Regions from separate parts of the Homo sapiens genome. Here regions 1 and 3 are each linked to region 2. The links are contacts of gene promoters, found by promoter capture Hi-C in blood cells and fetal thymus (Javierre and others, 2016). All regions are on one chromosome and are shown on one strand. The core of a region is centred on a gene start or on the middle of the fragment in contact, and the rest is flanking DNA. Distances in the headings are between cores, read along the strand shown.

Region 1 (3,572 bases), core at 691-3,190, 560 kb after region 2:
TGCCCTCTCAGGGTGAGCCAATATTGTTGACCAATGAGCCACATCCATTGTACTGCCCAAGTGCCACCCTGCTGAATAAACCTGGTCTCTGGCCAGCTCCTTAAGGTGAGCTAGTGTCTCTGAAACCCACCACCTATCTCCCTTCCTCCTGACCATCAAGGCCCAATGACTCTGTCTTCTAGCTGAGGCCAGCTCTGACAAATTCTTGAGGTTCTAGACTCTGTACCTGCTCTGGGGACCAGGAATGGGTCCTTCTTCACTGCTGCTGCTGCTGCTGCTGCTGCTGCTGGAGGCCTCGTCTCCACTGGGGAGCCTGGCTTGGGGGCAAGGTTGACCAGAACTTCTCTCCCCGACCAGGCTCCCTGCTTGGGAGGCCTGAGAGTTTAGCACGATGTACTTGTACTTTTTCCAGTTGCAGGCCTTGGGGTCAGGGCTGGCTGGACTGGGGGGGCCTTGACTGCAGCTTCGAGATTCAGTAGGTGGGTCTGGGTGTCCTTCGGAGCGCCTGGGACTACCTGGTGGAGGGGCCGTTGGGGGTGTTGGGGGTTCTGCTTCCAGGGGGCGCAGGGAGATGCCCAGAGGTTCATAGCTGGGGAAAGTGTGATGAACGTTAGTGCCATTTCCTAAACTCTGCCTTTGCCCTTAACACCTCACCCACAGAGAACGCCGAGCCAGGGTCCCTCACCTGGCCTGGATGAAGCGGTGGCATGCCTGGACCACGTGCTCCATCTGCAAATAGGTGGCGGCCGCTAGGACTGCTGGTGCAGTGGCTGGAGAGAGGCGCAGGCGCGAAGTGTACATGAAGTCCAATAGAGGGGCGAAGCCTCTCGCTTCGGGACCCCCGGGCAGAGAGAGCACGTCCACCCCGACTCCCGCACGGCCCCGGAAAATTGAATAGAAGAAGCCACTAGAGAGAGAGCAGATAAGTCCTTTGGGGGCTGGGGAACCAAGGGAGACATGCGCAGCTTCAGGAAGCCCCGCCCCCTGAAAAAGTCCCGCCTCCTCACTATCACCCCGCCCCCAATTCTGGGACGCTCCGCCTCCTGCTTCTGAAAGACTTGGCTTCGGATTCCCTCTCAACGGCCCTGTGGTCCCACCCCTTTCCCATTTGGCCCCGCCCCAGGCCCCACCCCTCGAACCTGCAGGCGATGAGAACTGCCTTGTGTGCTCTGAGGGGTTGCCCGCCAACCAGCAGCGTGACGTCAGTGAGGATCCCGCGCAGGCGCAGCTCGTTGAGGTTGCCCAGCACGTCGGAGGAGTGGCGAGTGAACTCGCGGACGTAGCCCAGCGCTCCCTCCGGGGCGGCGGGGGAACCCATAGCGACACAGGCCTGTAGAGGCCGTGGAAAGTGCTCTGGATCCAGGCAGTCCTAAGACGCCTTCCCTCCTCTGTTTGCCTTTTCCTTCCGAGGTGCAACTAGAGCCAGGACTTCCAGCCCCTAGCCCCGGCACACGCAGCCTCCCTCCTAATTCTTCTTGTTCATTCTGCCCTCTACGACACCCTCGCTCCCTTGCCTCTTCCAGATCCCACAGCGCTTGGAGCCAGTTGAAGGTTCCACACCGCGGCGTCGTTGGCGAGCGTGGGGAATCCCGCGCCCATCGCCCTGGGTTCGACCCCCAGTGCCCCTCCAGCACCGCCACTCCCCTCTGCGCGCCTGTGTCTCAGGTGTCCAACCCTGCCTCGAGATCTCACGGCCTGCCGTCCACACACCTCCAAATCCCAGCCGAGGCTCCCTTCCCCGAACTACGGAATTCTGCGACTCCTATCTAGTCCCCAATCCCTAGTTTAGCCCAATTTCTGGGACTCAGGCTCGCTGATGGCAAGCTCCACACAAGCTCCTACCCTCTTGGGGGACCCAGGAGTCTGGCTCCCTCAGTCTCTTGTTCTTACCCCCGTCCTGCAGGGGCCGCGGCTTCTCTTCTTAAGGGGGGCGGGGTCTCTCTCCCCTCTTGGCCTCGGCTCCTTTATCTGGCCGGGATGTCGGGGGCGGGGGTGGAGGTGGGGTGAACGCCTGGGTCTGTATCCTTCCTTCCTCCCTCGCTCTCCAGATGGCGAGTCCAGGGCGGGGTCTCCGTCTCGAGGGCGGGACCTCAGAAACAAGGGGTGGTCGTAACGTAGGGGGTCTTGGGTCACTGCAAGTGGACACGAGGACGGGGATATTGGAATTGGGGAGGAGGTTAGGGATATCGAGGTTGGCAATACGGGAGTCTGAGTCGTCGGAAGGCCTGGGCCAGTGAAAATTGGTGTGTTGGCTTTTGGGAGGGTTTGCCAGGAGCCAACCTTTGCTGCAGGACAAAGTGCATACGGCAACCCCCTCTCCCTCTCTTGTACTGTGTTAAGGGAGAAAAGGGGGAGCCCAACGAGACAGCAGGTTTGGGCAGACGACAGTGGGCTCCCGTAGGGTCTCAGACGGGGAGGGTGTGGTGTGAATGACAGGCTACTCTACCCGGGCCTACAAAAAGGGGGGCTCTGGCCGGGCGGGGTACGGAGAGGGCGGATATGATTTCTAGTTGGTTTCCTTCCATTGTCCTGCGACCGGACGGCTCCGCCAGCTGCTTCCCCTCGAGGAGGTGGGGAAAGCCCCGAGGTGGGGGTGGAGGGGCGAGAGACGCTCGGGAGACCTAGGCGTCCGGCCTCTCTCGCTCCCGACTCTCTTCTGGGTCCTTGTAGGGATCCAGAGAGATGGACTCCCGCCCAAAGCCCGCTTGCTTTCCCCCAATCCCAGCTCACGAGGGCCTCGGGCACCCGCCCGTCGGCTACGCTTGGAGGCTGGCGGGACGCCGGGGTCCAGCGCGGCAAGTAGGCAAGGCTCGGCAATGTGCGGCTCCTTCCACGAGGGGGCGGCCGAGCACTGGCCTCGCCTCGCCCCTCGTCTCCACCCGGCCTGGGGTGCGCTCAGACCCGGGCGCAGGATCCATTTGGTCTGGGCGGCTGAAACCTTTAGCCTCCTCCCCTTTGCGCGGGTTTATTTTGCACCTCTGTCTCCTAGGAGGGGACTAGGGCTGGGCGGAGGGAGCTAGAGTTAGGAGACCGAGGGGACTTTCCCCTCAGGCTGGGGTTCCTACCCGAGGTGAGAAATCGCGGGCTTTAGGAGCCAGGGGAATGGGTGGGACAAGAAGCGGGACCTGAGCCTGGGAACTCCGGGTTTTCTTTTCGAATTAAGCTAGACACTGCTACCCAGATGTCTTTGGAGGTGACTTTTAATTGAACATTAAAATTGGGTGGGGTAAACGAGAAGGGAAAACAAGGAGGAGGGAGAGAGGGCAGGAGGGGGCTTAACCACCCTAATTTGAAGTCCCTGATCTGAGAGATGGGCATGGATCACACCCTCATATTTTGTTTCGGGAGACATTGCGGGCAGGCAAGGCAAAGCTCATTTGGAGAAGGGGTGCTAGAGCTGAATCCAGCTGCAAGGCAGAAGCTCCCCGGATTTGGGCTGGGGAGAGTGTACAGTTGGCCAGGAATGGCCGACCATGGTCCACGGGGCTGGATATCAGGCCCGGGGCCCTCCCCTTCAGACCGGAGTGTGTCTTTATTTGAATGCATGAAAGAACAGCTGAGAAACCGGGAAC
Region 2 (3,594 bases), core at 243-2,742:
GCTGGTCTCGAACTCCTGACCTCAGATGATCCACCTGCCTCAGCCTCCTTAAAGTGCTGGGATTATAAGCTCGAGCTACCGCACCGGGCCCCAGACTGTTACTTTCCAAAACAGCTTTTCTCCGATGCCTACCACCCCCCACATCCAATCTTCCATTCCCTATAAATTAACACCCAAACTTGGCTTGACCTCCACGGCTCTCCATTGCTTCCCCATATAAAGCTGAGAAATGCCCAAGAGCTCTCTGATCCTTTATTTCCCTTCTCTGGGCCAATGGGTGCCCCATTTCACATGTCTTCTCTCTCCAAAGACAAGTCTTCATACCATTTTTTTTTTCTTATTTTAATTTTGAGACGGAGTTTCACTCTTGTTGCCCAGGCTGGAGTGCAATGGCACGATCTTGGCTCACTGTAACCTCTGTCTCCCGGGTTTAAGCGATTCTCCTGCCTCAGCCTCCCGAGTAGCTGGGATTACAGGCGCCTGCCACAACGCCCGGCTAATTTTTTGTATTTTTAGTAGAGGCGGGGTTTCGCCCTATTGGCCAGGCTGGTCTCGAACGCCTGACCTCAGGTGATCCACCCGCTTCGGCCTCCCAAAGTGCTGGGATTACAGGCGTGAGCCACCGTGCCCGCCCCATACCACTCTTTCTTGAACACTCTGACTGTCCCTGGCCCCTACTCAGGGACTAAACCTTACCCTTTCAAGGCTTGCTTTTATGCCCTGGCCATCCACAACTTCTCTAGCCTTGAAGCCTTCCCCTCAAGGAACTTGGTCTAGTGGGAGTCTGACTCTCACGGGTCATGAATGCGGCTAAAACAAAGTGCCCCACGAGCTCAAGAGAGGTACCATGAACTGACAGGGGCAGACTGACGCTCCCCAAACGGTCTGACGGTGACCCTTGTGGAGCTGTCTCGCAATCAGAAAAAGGAAGGGAGGCAAATTATTCCGAAATCAGACTATGAGCAAACCTGGAGGCTGGAAAGAAAGCAATCAGGGTGGCGGAGCCTTTGGGGGTGCAATGAAGGCCCGATTCATCAGGGGCTTTGAATTAAGTTTAACCCTGCTAGCGATCTAATAAAGGTTGGCATGATTTGACTTAATTTTTATTTTGTTTTATAAAAGTTGACTCTTCGTTTTTCATTGTCGCTACAGCACAAACTCCACAAAGAAGTAATTCCACCCGGTGACTTCCCCACTGGCACTAATATGGTGTCCTCCCTCTAAGGAGCCCGAGACACTTCCGCCCTTCTCAGAAGTGACTTCCGTCCAGCTCGGCATGGCGGCAGTCACTGCCGTCACTTAGTCGCCGATCAAGGCTTGGACTAAGGGCCCACGGTCACTCGAGTAGGACTTGGATCGGATGCTGAATAAAACTCACCGTGAAGCAAGTCCCACTGAACGAAAAGTTGGTCGTAGCATTTCTCAGGTAAAAGAATCGGCACGAGCAGCCGTTTAAGCGGTCCGTCCGCCTCGGCCGCCATATTGCAAAGCTAGCTTCCGCCAGTCTCTCCAGACCGCCATTGACTTTCGTTGCGCGTGCGCGCTGCGGACACTCCGCCTCCCGTTCTTTTCCCGCGGCGAAGCTGGCCCGCCCCGTGCCCCGCTCTTTCTGACGCTACCCACCCTCACTCTAGTGGCGTAAAATAAGTCTCAGTCAGGGACCACGTTTTGGACGCGCTGTTGGAATTGTAAAGCTTGCCGAAGCTGCACGCCTGCGCGGTTAGACCTCCCACGCCTTTGTTGACGCTTCCAGTTTGGAAGCCAGATTTACACCCCTGCCTTTCTCCGCTCCTCCTGCTGGGCGCCATCTTGTCTTCTCCTAGCACACTTTGTATTGTTCGAAGTTGAGAGAGAAGGAGCCGGAGTCTCCGAGGTGGCGTTGGGTGGGGGCGCTACTAGCTCCCGTTCTCTCAGCGTCTCTAGAGGGAAGGGCGCCGGTGGGAGCAGGAGAGTCTGCACCGGGCAGGCCTCCTTAGGTGCCGGGTTGCGCGCAGGGCCCTGTGCTTGTCTCGCCTCCGGTTGGCTCAGGCCTCGGAGCATGAGTGCGCCGGCAACTGCTGGGCCCGGGACAGTGAAGCAGAGGAGGAGGTGGGGGAGGCGAGCCCAGGTCGGGGAAGGGCAGCACCTGAATCACCCTTGGGGCCCAGACCCCCAAGAGTCTCCGGGGAGCCGAGGCCTGGCGAGGCAGTCCCGGGATTCGCCCCCTCCCCGCTGGCCCGAGGGCGCACCACGTGCTGGGCAGAGACTTCGGCGAGGCCGAGTGGACCCTGCAGCGCTGCTTGGGAAAGGGCACCTTGGACTACCTGGTGGGGGCGTTGTGCTTCGTTACCGACCGCCGGGACGCCAACCCACGGTGCCCACCCGTGCGTCATTCCGCTGTGGATCAGCCCTTTGGCGGCCCCCCTCCAAAGTCTACAAGGTCACACGGATGTCTGCAGGCAGAGGTGGGGCTGCTGGGGCCCTGCCAGGTGAGGGCTGCCCTTGTGGGGCAGTCTCTGGGCCTTGGAGGCCGGAAGCCTCCTGGGGCTCCTACGGCTGGGGGGTGCTGCTCATCCTGGCTCCCAGGGATTGCGCCGTAGCCAGCTGTAATGGGTGGGACTGGCGCTCACTGCTGGTGCAGGCTGTGGCCATCTGGGAGGTCCTTTCTGGAATCTGGACCTTGGCTGTCCTGAGAGTGACACTCCTCATCTCAAGTACTGGGGGCATGAAGTTAGGCTTGGCAGGTGGCCCCGTGTGGGGGGCATGCTGTTCCCAGGAGCCCCCAGTGGAGGTCAGAGTACCCACTGCTCCTTCTTGATTCAACCCCTTGTAGGTGGGATAGGAGCATGCCAGGTGCTGCGAGGGTTTAATCGGGCTCTTCTGCTGGCCTTGAATATGGTGGACAGGACAGGACATTCTCATTGCTCAGGAGCCACTGGCGCTGCCTTTGGGAATGAAGTTCCACAGCCCCCCACTCATTGCTTTGGCTGTCTGCTGCATTTGAAACTGTACGAGGGTCAGGAAGAAGGCTGCGGGGATGAATGGCTCTACCGGCTTGCCACGGATGGGGAACTGGAGCAGCCAGTGGCCCCAAGAGGAGGAAGGAAGGGAGGCACGGCAGACCCAACACCAGCTGTGCCAGGCTTTGGGGGGTGAACCCATGAGGCATCGTCACACACTGACATTTTCATCCCTCCTCAGCAGCTGCTTCCGGCTCCCTGAGACCCAGCCATGGAAGGCATAGAAAGGCATGTGACAAGAAACTCATGGCTTTTAATCCTGGCAGGACAAGGAAAACCCCGTCAAAGATTTGCATAAATTTTGCTGCTCTCCTGCTGGGGGGGGGGGGGGGGCAGTTCGTCACATTTAATAAAATTCTCTCCCTCCCTTCTCCCGACTGCATTATCTCATATTTATTTATTTGAGACAGTCTGGCTCTGTCGCCCAGGCTGGAGTGCAGTGGCGCGATCTTGGCTTAGTGGCGCGATGACGGCTCACTGCAACCTCCACCTCCTGGGTTCAAGCAGTTCTGCCTCAGCCTCCCAAGTAGCTGGGATTACAGGCCAGCTGGGATTACGCCGCCACACCTGGCTAATTGTATTTTTAGTAGAGACA
Region 3 (3,353 bases), core at 823-3,322, 530 kb after region 2:
AACTCCTTTAATCCTTTCAACATTCCTAAGAAGTCGTGCTAATAGTAACAAGGTACTATCATTATTGTCTTAACTCATTCGGGCTGCTATAACAAGATACCTTAAACTATTAATTTATAAGCAACAGAAATTTGAGCCAGGTGTGGTGGCTTATGCTTGTAATCCCAGCAGCTCTGGAGGCTGCGGTGAGAGAACTGCTTGAGGCCAGGAGCAGTCTGGGCAACAAAGTGAGACGCATCTCTGAAAAACAAACAAAAACCACAGAAATTTATTGCTCACATTTCTGGAAGCTGGGAAGCCAGAAGATTTGGTGTTTGGTAAGGGCTTGCTCTCATAGATGGCACCTTCTAGCTGTGTCCTCACAGGGCAGAAGGAGTGGACAGGCTGCCTCAGGCCTCTTTCATAAGGGCACTCAATCTCATTCACAAGGTCTTCATCCTCATGAAGGCCTCAGTCACCTCCTAAAGGACCCACCTCTTAATACTTCGCATTGGGGACTAGATTTTTTTTTTTTTTTTTTGAGATGGAGTTTCGCTCTTGTTGCCCAGGCTGGAGTGCAATGGCATGATCTCGGCTCACCACAACCTCCGCCTCCCAGGTTTAAGCAATTCTCCTGCCTCAGCCTCCCGAGTAGCTGGGATTACAGGCATGTGCCACCGTGCCCGGCTAATTTTTTTGTATTTTTAGTAGAGACAGAGTATCTCCATGTTGGTCAGGCTGATCTCGAACTCCTGATCTCAGGTGATCCGCCCACCTCGGCCTCCCAAAGTGTTGGGATTACAGGCGTGAGCCACCGGACCCGGCCTGGGATTAGATTTCAACATATGAATTTGACGGGGAGAGGCACAAACATTAAGATCATAGCAATTACCATCTTTTTTTTCCTCAAAAGTAGGAACTATTATAATTTGCTTTGGGGATGAGGGAACTATTGCAAAGAGAGGTTGAATAACTTGCTCTAGGTTATATAGCCAGTAAGTACCAAAGCCAGGGCTTGAACCCAGACAATCTGGTTCCAGGGTTCGTGTTTGTCCCACCATGTTATGTTGCCTCTTAATAACATATACTAAAATACACTCACATTCCACACTAAATATATTTTTACAATTAAAAATTTAAAAGATTTCTTTTTTTTTTTTTTGAGACGGAGTCTTGTTCTGTCGCCCAGGCTGGAGTGCAGTGGTGCGATCCCTGCTCACTGCAAGCTCCGCCTCCTGGGTTCACTCCGTTCTCCTGCCTCATCCTCCCGAGTAGCTGGGACTACAGGTGCCCGCCACTACACCCGGCTAATTTTTTTGTGTTTTTAGTGGAGATGGGGTTTCACCCTGTTAGCCAGGATGGTCTCGATCTCCTGACCTCGTGATCCGCCCACCTCGGCCTCCCAAAGTGCTGGGATTACAAGCGTGAGCCACCGTGCCCGGCCCAAAAATTTAAAAGATTTCTAAGATTTTTTGCCGTTTAAAATCTTAAAAGGACGTTTATTCTTTTAAAGGATTGTTTGTCTATAAGAAACTCAGTGAATCTATGATTGGCTCTGATTTCTCAGCAATCACGATAAACATTTAGGAAATCCTGCAAAGTGAAAAAAAGCTTCAAATTGTTTTCCAATGTAATGAAAATTTAGGAACATGAAATTTAACAAAGAAATGGACTAATATTATGTTTTGTAGACATTTTTAAAAACGCTTTAATATTCATTACTTTAGATTTTTAAGTTTGCCTTTTGTATTTGGAAATCGGTACACTTTTTCATATCCCTAGCATTTCTGTAAGCATGGGGAATGCTTTTAGCCCTAAGCCCTGCATACTTAGGGAATAAATATACTCTCCTCAAGGACAACAGGGAAATAAACCCAGAAACCACATGCCATGCAAGAACAGCGGGGCTTTATGAGTCCTGGAGCTCAGGTGTCAGCCCACTCTGCTGCTCACTGTGTTCAGCACTCACTGGCCACAGTCCTGAAACATCAGCTCTTGGGGCGGTGGCATCAACTTCCTATCTCCCAGATCCCTGGGCCCAGGGAAGGGGAAGCTGATTACCCATAAATCAGGGTGCTCGGCCGGGCATGGTGGCTTAAGCCTGTAATCCCAGCACTTTGGGAGGCCGAGGCAGGTGGATTACCTGAGCTTGGGAGTTCACCACCAGCCTGGGTAACACGGTGAATCCCTGTCTCTACTAAAATACAAAAAATTAGCCGGGCATGGCGGCATGTGCCTGTAATCCCAGCTACTCGGGAGGCTGAGGCAGGCGAATTGCTTGAACCTGGGAGGCGGAGGTTGCAGTGAGCAGAGATTGCGCCACTGCACTCCAGCCTGGGTGACAGAATGAGACTCCATCTAAAAAAAAAAAAATCAGAGTCCTCTTTCTACGTACCCAGTTGATGAGATGCCCGAGGCCCCGCCTCACCTCTCTGTAGGCCTGTGCAGGTGTGATTTCCCTCCAGGTGAGACCATGACACCCGTCCCTCACAAATGTGTTTTAAACCAGAATCGGTCTCATTGCAAGGGACTCCTGATTGTGAATGGAGGAGAGAAAGATAGGATGAAAGCTTGAGATGGAGGTAGCTAAAGCTGGGTATGGCTCTTTGAATGGGATAGAGGGAAGGAACCCTAAAGAAGAGATGCTGCCCAGCATTTAAAACGTTTTGACAGTAGGGGAGAGGCAGGAGAAAGCTTTGCAGAGGAAATGGCATGGAGATGTGGGCAGGGGCAAAGGAGATTCATGGCCAACAAGAGGTACAGAAAGGAACGCACTGGGAGGGACAAGATCCACCTGCACAAGGACAGGAAGAGGCTTGTGTGGCATCCACTGCAGCCAGTTGCAGCCTCTTCAGCGTCTGGGCCCTTCTATGACTTTGGGACTTTCTCAGGGCTTAGCCCCCACGCGACTCCTCCCAGTGTTCACAAAGGCATTTCTGCCTTGGGGCAAGAAAACAGGCACCATTTGCTTACTGGGCCCCCAAAACTCTGCCTTGCATATGTCAGATCCTCCAAGATGTGTAATTTACATCCCTGCAGAAAACCTGTTATCTGACCTCCTGTCCCCTCCTGCCTTGGCTTCTGGTCCTGGTTGATATTCCTTGGGGAGGTAGAGACTCTGGCCAGGCAGGGCTGCTGCAGCCCTAAGGGCTGATGTGGGTTACCATGTCCACTAAGAGCCTGCATCCTTCAAGTCAGATGCCCAGGTCTCAGGCTGAGGCTGGGAAGGCAGACAAAGGGACCCAAAAAACTCAGGTAGCTGAGAGGTTGGTATAGCAGCAGGGAGATGACAAATATCACCTTCTGGCCCCTTCTGGTCTGACTGCCCCTCACAAATCCAGACAGGAGGGGCATAGTGACTTGGAGTAGAATTG

What was found. The method cuts DNA at HindIII sites, captures the fragments that hold promoters and counts their contacts. A CHiCAGO score of 5 or more calls a contact.
Region 1: a contact is called between the fragment with the promoter of BCL6B here and the fragment with the promoter of MPDU1 in region 2, in 1 of 17 cell types (monocytes). The highest score is 7.9, in monocytes.
Region 3: a fragment that was not itself captured here is called in contact with the fragment with the promoter of MPDU1 in region 2 in 1 of 17 cell types (total B cells); the score reaches 5.4 in total B cells.

The regions. Positions count from the first base shown.
Region 1 is chr17:7,021,418-7,024,989 of GRCh38, reverse strand. BCL6B (BCL6B transcription repressor) reads right to left here and starts at 1,940. Exons shown (of 9, transcript NM_181844.4): 1 at 1,891-1,940; 2 at 1,140-1,330; 3 at 686-907; 4 at 227-589. The coding sequence starts at 1,318. RefSeq lists a silencer at 2,847-2,986. The HindIII fragment of the contact is 4,378 bases long and covers 1-3,572 here.
Region 2 is chr17:7,581,750-7,585,343 of GRCh38, reverse strand. It overlaps MPDU1 (mannose-P-dolichol utilization defect 1), which reads right to left and starts at 1,492. Exons shown (of 7, transcript NM_004870.4): 1 at 1,379-1,492. The coding sequence starts at 1,481. MPDU1-AS1 (MPDU1 antisense RNA 1) reads left to right here and starts at 1,252. Exons shown (of 2, transcript NR_136402.2): 1 at 1,252-1,426; 2 at 3,181-3,370. CD68 (CD68 molecule) reads right to left here. Exons shown (of 6, transcript NM_001251.3): 6 at 3,233-3,594. RefSeq lists enhancers at 47-919, 1,154-1,683, 920-1,794, 1,794-1,843, 1,795-2,668. The HindIII fragment of the contact is 8,258 bases long and covers 1-1,696 here.
Region 3 is chr17:7,053,437-7,056,789 of GRCh38, reverse strand. No RefSeq gene overlaps it. Among named protein-coding and RNA genes, the nearest start is that of SLC16A11, 11 kb to the right of the region's middle. The HindIII fragment of the contact is 959 bases long and covers 1,593-2,551 here.